Linked DNA regions of Homo sapiens: region 2 is linked to region 1. Evidence: promoter capture Hi-C in human tissues and cell types (Jung and others, 2019). All regions are on one chromosome and are shown on one strand. The core of a region is centred on a gene start or on the middle of the fragment in contact, and the rest is flanking DNA. Distances in the headings are between cores, read along the strand shown. Region 1 holds the start of C12orf71 (chromosome 12 open reading frame 71). Region 2 has its middle 37 kb from the start of C12orf71.

What was found. The method cuts DNA at HindIII sites, captures the fragments that hold promoters and counts their contacts. A contact is called where the count stands out against the background at its distance.
Region 2: a contact is called between a fragment that was not itself captured here and the fragment with the promoter of C12orf71 in region 1, in 1 of the 25 tissues and cell types used here (pancreas).

Annotation. Positions count from the first base shown.
Region 1 is chr12:27,080,104-27,084,015 of GRCh38, forward strand. It overlaps C12orf71 (chromosome 12 open reading frame 71), which reads right to left and starts at 2,475. Exons shown (of 2, transcript NM_001080406.2): 1 at 1,865-2,475; 2 at 954-1,364. The coding sequence starts at 2,380. The coding sequence ends at 1,071. The HindIII fragment of the contact is 8,877 bases long and covers 1-3,912 here.
Region 2 is chr12:27,117,192-27,121,270 of GRCh38, forward strand. It overlaps the pseudogene LOC124902904. Among named protein-coding and RNA genes, the nearest start is that of C12orf71, 37 kb to the left of the region's middle. The HindIII fragment of the contact is 3,267 bases long and covers 348-3,614 here.

The DNA.
Region 1 (3,912 bases), core at 1,225-3,724:
GATAATGTCTACTTGCAACAACAGTAATAATATTTATCAAGTGCTTGTGTTACCTCATAAACTCTCACACTAACCCTGTGAGGTATGTATTATTATCTTCCACTTCTTTTGAATGAAGACAGCTAGACTTAGAGTGGTTAAGAAGTGTTCACAGTCGTCACATTGCTCCTAAGTGGGCCACTACTACAGCCAAGGCAACACATGCTGGAACCTGTCAAGTACCCAGAGAATATCAGAACTGCTGTCCGATCTCCTGAAATTGAAATTAATTTCCTCAGTGACTCAATACCCACTGCCACTCACTCAAGCCCTGCAAGTTCAAGCCAAATCATCCTGCCACCACAGGAATCTGATGGGTCACGCTGCTGCCTACTGAAAATGGGGATTTGGGTTAGTGATAAAATAGGTTAAAACACATAAAATAGGTAAACTAGGGTAAAATACAGTAAGAATGGGTGAGAGGAGAGAAAAAGAATACTTCAGTTTAGGAAGCATAATACTACTTAAAATTTCCTGAGAATAAATTTGTCTTCTAGACAACACATATACTTTCTTTTCTTTTTTTAAATTTTTCTTTAATTTTTATTTATTTATTTATTTATTTATTTATTTATTTATTTGAGATAGAGTTTTGCTCTTTTGCCTAGGCTGGAGTGAAGTGGTGTGATCTCAGCTCACTGCAACTTCTGCCCCCAGGTTCAAGCGATTCTCCTGCCTCAGCCTCCTGGGTAGCTGGGATTATAGGCGCCCCCCACCACACCAAGCTAATTTTTGTATTTTTAGTAGAGATGGGGTTTTGCCATGTTGGCCTGGCTGGTCTCAAACTCCTGATCTCAGGTGATCCACCTGCCTGCCGCAGCCTCCCAAAGCGCTGGGATTACAGGTGTGAGCCACTGCGCCTGGCCCACATATGCTTGAAATGTGAGTCAAGATGGTGTGCTGGGAGAGGAAGATGTGGGGTAACAAGAGCATTTATTTTGTTTATTGAGGAAAAAACAAACTGATGGGGATTATTAATGGAATCCTTATTATGGATTATTTTAAACTTTCCAAAAAGTTTAAAAATCTGTCTATATGGGATGTCCTAATTCAAGGGTTTCTTGAGGTTGAATTCTCTTGCCTCTGTGAAAGAGTCTTTTCGTTGGTGCTGACCGATGGGGACTTTTGGTGGCATTCACAGGGTGATCCCTCCTCAGCAGAGAGGGGAGGATACGCTGCCTCAGCCAGCTGAAGGCCCACCCAAAGTTCAGGCAGCACTGGGCCTGTGTGTGTGAAGGAGTGTCATCCTTCTCTGGCTGCTCTGACAGGATTGAGGAGATCTCTGGAGCGCTTGTCCTTTGGCTGGCGGTTGCCTGGCTTATCATCTGCCATGAAAATGAAGGATGTGTTAGGTAGGAATAACCATGACAACAGCCAAATCAACGTTTACTCATTTGTGGAACTCACATCCTTTTACCAAAAATAGCCCAAGTGTCAATGCAGAGTTTCAATGCTCATCAATACTAAACATATACGTTTTTGGTGGGGAGGGAGATATAGTTAGCCCTTCTCCTTGCTTGCTACCCTCTTGTTTCCCTCAGCATTCCCAGTCTTTTCCCTACAGCTTCACCCTGACTCCTTTCCTTGTTGTCTCCCACTGGTATCACGTCAGTCCCCCTGGGACCTGCCTCCTCCTAGTGGTCATAAGATTCTGTGGTTCAACCCAGGCCTATCCCTTCCTGTCCTGTGAGGCATCTCTGCTCTCCTCAGCCAGCTCATGTCCCTTAAGCCTTAGAGGAGTCTGTGGAGACTACATAACATCTTTATTTTCTGGTGGCTTGCACTTGGGCAGGTCTTGACAAGCATCATATTCCTGATGACTGACCTGAACCATTTCCGGAGGGGAGCCGCTGGATAGCTGGAAATCTTGCTGAGCAGTTTCAGGAAATACAGCGTCATCATCTTTCAGATTTTCTAGAAATATCTGAAACTCTTGCACAAGATTATTCAGTTTGCCAACAGACAGTTTTGTTCTCTCTTTTGGTAACTTGTCTATCCACAGGTTGTCTCCATTTAGAAGCCTATTAGCTCTTGAGTCTGTGTTATCGGAGCCAATGTCCACGTCCCAGGCCAGGAAGATGCTTAGTTTGCAAAACTGCTCTGGTTCATCCTGAATTTGGTCTTGTCTCTTCATGCGTCTCCCTATCCTTTCAGTCCCCCATGCCCCTTGGACGGGAGGCAGAAAGTGGATGGAAGGACCCTTGGAAGGTGCATCTTCCCAGGAGGTTGTGTCCTCACAGGGGGTGTCCTCACAGGGGAAATAGCCCACAGAGAGGCTCAGGTTGGAATTGGATTTGGAGCTGTCGTCCTCTATGTCGCTGTTAGAGGATGAATATGCCATGGAGTTCAAAGGCACAAATTTCTCTCAACTTGAGAAGCTTCAAAAAAGAAAAAAGAAAAAATAGGTGGGACTAAGGAGAAGAGAGTCATAGTACTTAAGCAAAAACATTATCCATTCCCTTCTCTTTTTTCTTTTTTTTTTTTTGAGACGAAGTCTCACTCTGTCTCCCAGGCTGGAATGCAGTGGTGTGATCTTGGCTCACTGCAACCTCAGCCTCCCGAGTAGCTGGGACTACAAGCACACGCCACCACACCTGGCTAATTTTTGTATTTTTAGTAGAGATGGGGTTTCACCATGTTGACCAGGCTGGTCTCGAACTCCTGACCTCAGGTGATCCACTCACCTTTGCCTCCAAAGTGCTGGGATTATAGGTGTGAGCCACCACACCCGGCCCCATTCCCTTTTCTATTCAGAACTACCCCATTTAGATAGAAGTATTATCCAATAGTTTTTGTTTGTTTTTGTTTTTTTTTTTGAGATGGAGCCTCGCTCTGTTGTCCAGGCTGGAGTTCAGTGGTGTGATGTCAGCTCACCGCAACCTCCGTCTCCTGGATTCAAGAGATTGTCTTGCCTCAGCCTCCCGGGTAGCTAGGACTACAGGCACATGCCACCATGCCCAGCTAATTTTTTGTATTTTTAGTAGAGAAGGGGTTTCACCATGTTAGCCAGAAAGGTCTTGACCTGACCTCGTGATCTACCTGCCTCGGCCTCCCAAAGTGCTGGGATTACTGGCATGAGCCACCAGGCCTGGCCAGTGTTATCCAGTTTTTACAATCTCTCAGTGAAGGGCAGAAGAGGCAGCCCTCTCCCTTTTAAAACTTATTTCATTGTATTATAATCCTCTCTACTAAGCATCTCCACTTCTCATCATTTGTCCTACTGTGGTTGTAAGATCTTGTATCATAAAAGAAAAGGATGATCATTGTATAAAATTGGAAAAATATAGGAAAGTATGAAGATGAAATAAATATGCTGTAGTCCTACCTTCTAAAGATAATGATAACTATCAAAACATTTTGATGGACTTCCTTATCTTTTCTATTTATATAAACACACATATACATATCTGTACATTTATACAATATGTCCACATACACATATACATATATGTAAATGTGGATATGACATATAGTTGAAACTGAAATTATTTTATCCCATAGCCTACAACAAACATATATATGGTTACTCTGCAATTTTTAACCACTTCTTATTAATGCTAAATAAATCTGTAATAAACCCGCTTTTCCATAAATCTTTGACTATGTCTCTTATTTTTCTATATGTAGGATTAATGGACCAAACCCCATAAATATATTAAAGTCTTGTGGTAGTTGATACCAAATTACTTTCCAGAAGGTTTTGGTATTTAGATGCCCATCCTCCCACCGTCTGATGACACTGTTTAGTCCAGCTTTTTCTGTGAAGCCCCAGAGTAAGTAGGGCTGGAAGAATGTGCACGTGCATGCACGCGTGCACGCGCGCACACACAGACACACACACACAAACAAAAGACTGTCACACCCTGCTCTGGT
Region 2 (4,079 bases), core at 731-3,230, 37 kb after region 1:
TGATTTTTGATGGGTTTTTTATGTCTTTATCTCCTTTGGTTCTTCTCTGCTCTTAGTTATTTCTTGCCTTCTGCTAGCTTTTGAATTTGTTTTCTCTTGCTTCTCTAGTTCTTTTAATTGTGATGTTAGAGTGTCAATTTTAGATCTTTCTTGCTTTCTCTTCTGGGCATTTAGTGCTGTAAATTTCCCTCTACACACTGCTTTAAATGTGTCCCAGAGATTCTGGTACATTGTGTCTTTGTTCTCATTGGTTTCAAAGAACATCTTCATTTCTGCCTTCATTTCGTTATTTACCCAGTAGTCATTCAGGAGCCAGTTGTTCAGCTTCCTTGTAGTTGTGCAGTTTTGAGTGAGTTTCTTAATCCTGAGTTCTAGTTTGATTGCACTGTGGTCTGAGAGACAGTTTGTTGTGATTTCTGTTCTTTTACATTTGCTGAGGAGTGCTTTACTTCCAATTATGTGATTAATTTTAGAATATGGGCAATGTGGTGCTGAGAAGAATGTATATTCTGTTGATTTGTGGTGGAGAGTTCTGTAGATGTCTGTTAGGTCTTCTTGGTGCAGAGCTGAAGTCCTGGATATCCTTTTTAACTTTCTGTCTCCTTGATCTGTCTAATGTTGACAGTGGGGTGTTAAAGTCTCCCACTATTATTGTGTGGGAGTCCAAGTCTCTTTATAAGTCTCTAAGAACTTGCTTTATGAATCTGGGTGCTCCTGTGTTGGGTGCATATATATTTAGGATAGTTAGCTCTTCTTGTTGAGTTGATCCGTTTACCATTATGTAATGGCCTACTTTGTCTCTTTTGATCTTTGTAGGTTTAAAGTCTGTTTTATCAGAGACTAGGATTGCAACCCCTGCTTTTTTTTTTGCTTTCCATTTGCTTGGTAGATCTTCCTCCATCCCTTTATTTTGAGCCTATGTGTGTCTTGGCACATGAGATGGGTCTCCTGAATACAGCACACTGATGGGTCTTGACTCTTTATCCAGTTTGCCAGTCTGTGTCTTCTAATTGGGGCATTTAGCCAATTTACATTTAAGGTTAATATTGTTATGTGGGAATTTGATCCTGTCATTATGATGTTCCCTGGTTGTTTTGCCCGTTAATTGATGCAGTTTCTTCCTAGCATTGATGGTCTTTATAATTTGGCATGCTTTTGCAGTGGCTGGTACTGGTTGTTCCTTTCCATGTTTAGTGCTTCCTTCAGGAGCTCTTGTAAGGCATGCCTGGTGGTGACAAAATCTCTCAGCATTTGCTTGTCTGTAAAGGATTTTATTTTTCCTTCACTTATGAAGCTTAGTTTGGCTGGTATGAAATTCTGGCTTGAAAATTCTTTTCTTTAAGAATGTTGAATATTGGCCCACACCCTCTTCTGGCTTGTAGGGTTTCTGCCGAGAGATCAGCTGTTAGTCTGATGGGCTTCCCTTTGTGGGTAACCCGACCTTTCTCTCTGGCTGCCCTTAACATATTTTCCTTCATTTCAACTTTGGTGAATCTGACAATTATGTGTCTTGGAGTTGCTCTTCTCGAGGAGTATTTTTGTGGTGTTCTCTGTATTTCCTGAATTTGAATGTTGGCCTGCCTTGCTAGGTTGGGGAAATTCTTCTGGATAGTATCCTGCAGAGTGTTTTCCAACTTGGCTCCATTCTCCCCATCACTTTCAGGTACACCAATCAAACGTAGATTTGGTCTTTTCACATAGTCCCATATTTCTTGGAGGCTTTGTTCGTTTCTTTTTACTTTAGAGTTTCTTTTCTGTTTCTTTTTACTTTGTTCGTTTCTTTTTACTTTAGAGTTTTTAGAGAAAAAACTCTAAACTTGTCTTCTTGCTTTATTTCATTAATTTGATCTTTAATCACTGATACCCTTCCTTCCACTTGATGGAATTGGCTATTGAAGCTTATGCATCCATCACAAAGTTCTCATGCCATGGTTTTCAGCTCCATCAGGTCATTTAAGGTCTTCCCTACACTCCTTATTCTAGTTAGCCATTCATCTAACCTTTTTTCAAGGTTTTTACCTTCTTTGTGATGGGTTAGAACATGTTCCTTTAGCTCAAAGAAGTTTATTATTACCAACCTTCTGAAGTCTATTTCTGTCAACTTGTCAAAGTCATTCTTTGTTCTGTTGCTGGCGAGGAGCTATGATCCTTTGGAGGAGAAGAGGTGCTCTGGTTTTTAGAATTTTCAGCTTTTCTGCTCTGGTTTCTCCCCATCTTTGTGGTTTTATCTACCTTTGGTCTTTCATGTTGGTGACCTACAGATGGTGTTTTGGTGTAGATGTCCTTTTTGTTGATGTTGATGCTATTCCTTTCTGTTTGTTAGTTTTCCTTCTAAGAGTCAGGTCCCTCAGCTTCAGGTCTGTTGGAGTTTGCTGGAGGTCCACTCCAGACCCTGTTTGCCTGGGTATCACCAGCAGAGGCTGCAGAACTGCAATTATTGCAGAACAGCAAATATTGGTGCCTGATCCTTCCTCTGGAAGCTTCATCCCAGAGGGGCACTCATCTGTATGAGGTGTCTGTCAGCTCCTACTGGGAGATGTCTTCCAGTTAGGCTACATGGGGGTCAGCGACCCACTTGAGGAGGCAGTCTGTCCATTCTCAGAGCTCAAGCACCATGCTGGGAGAGCCCCTGCTCTCTTCAGAGCTTTCAGACAGGGACGTTTAAGTCTGTGGAAGTCTGCTGTCTTTTGTTCAGCTATGCCCTGCCCCCAGGGGTGTAGTCTATAGAGGCAGTAGGCCTTGCTGAGCTGCAGTGGGCTCTGCCCAGTTCAAGCTTCCCTTGGCTACTTTTGTTTACCTACTCAAGCCTCAGCAATGGCAGACGCCCCTCCCCCAGCCAGGCTACAGCCTTGCAGGTCAATCTCAGACTGCTGCTAGCCAGTGAGCAAGGCTCCGTGGGCATGGGACCCACCAATCCAGGTATGAGAGGGAATCTCCTGGTCTGCCGGTTGCTAAGACCATGGGAAAAGCACAGTATTTGTGCGAGAGTGTCCCGTTTTTCCAGGTACAGTCTGTCATGGCTTCTCTTGGCTAGGAAAGGGAAATCCCCTGACCTCTTGCACTTCCCGGGTGAGGCGATGCCCAGCCCTGCTTTGCCTCGCCCTCCATGGGCTGCACCCACTATCCAACCAGTCCCAATGAGATGAACCAGGTACCTTAGTTGGAAATGCAGAAATCACCCGTCTTCTGCATTGATCATGCTGGGAGCTGCAGACAGAGCTGTTCCTATTCGGCCTTCTTGGAACGGAACTGCAAAATACTTTTTAAATGAAAGAGAATGCAAGCCACTTAATTATGTAATTCAGCTTGATCCTTTATGCTCTCAGTTTTCATGTTTTGAGTTTCCCATACTGGAGTGTGGTTATTAAATGTGTGTCCTACTTCTTTGGATGGTGCACTGGCTGAGTGTGTGAGTAAATTTTTTAGAATGACCTAGGTTCATAACCTAACTTGTTGATTCCTTGTTTTCTGGGTAACTGTAGACACATAAATTGAGTATTTTCATGCTGTAGTATTTCCACAATAAATGGTGGTGATATTTTTCACCTTTGGAAGTCAGTAAAGTTCTGGAAAATCCTTAGGTGAAATGACTTTAAATCAAAATAATATTTTACAACAATTATATGGCATTATGTTAGAATGAATGCATAATTGGAAACTCATCCAAGAAGCTGGTACGAGAACTATAAATATATTTGTGAAAATAAAGTGGTGAGATTTGGCTGCTTAGAAACAGAGGGCAAAGGTTTCTGTGAAACAGCATGTGCCCTTTATTCCCCAGGTGTTTGCTCTATCACAGTATCTATAACATAGTAAGAGCTTTATTCGGGTGCTTAGTCTGGTACCTGAAATGCATTAGTGAATGTTGAAAATCACATTGTCTTGACTTTTTCCTGTCGATGACCAAATTTTTTGCAAGCATTATCTCAGTATAGTTTTTAACAGTAAACCAATGTGTAGATTGTGACATAATTTCAGCCTCAATTCATCTTCACATAGGATCAGGTAAACAAATTATGTATTATAGTGGAAGTCAGACAGACCCAGGTTAGAAACTGAATTTGGCTATATTTACTTTC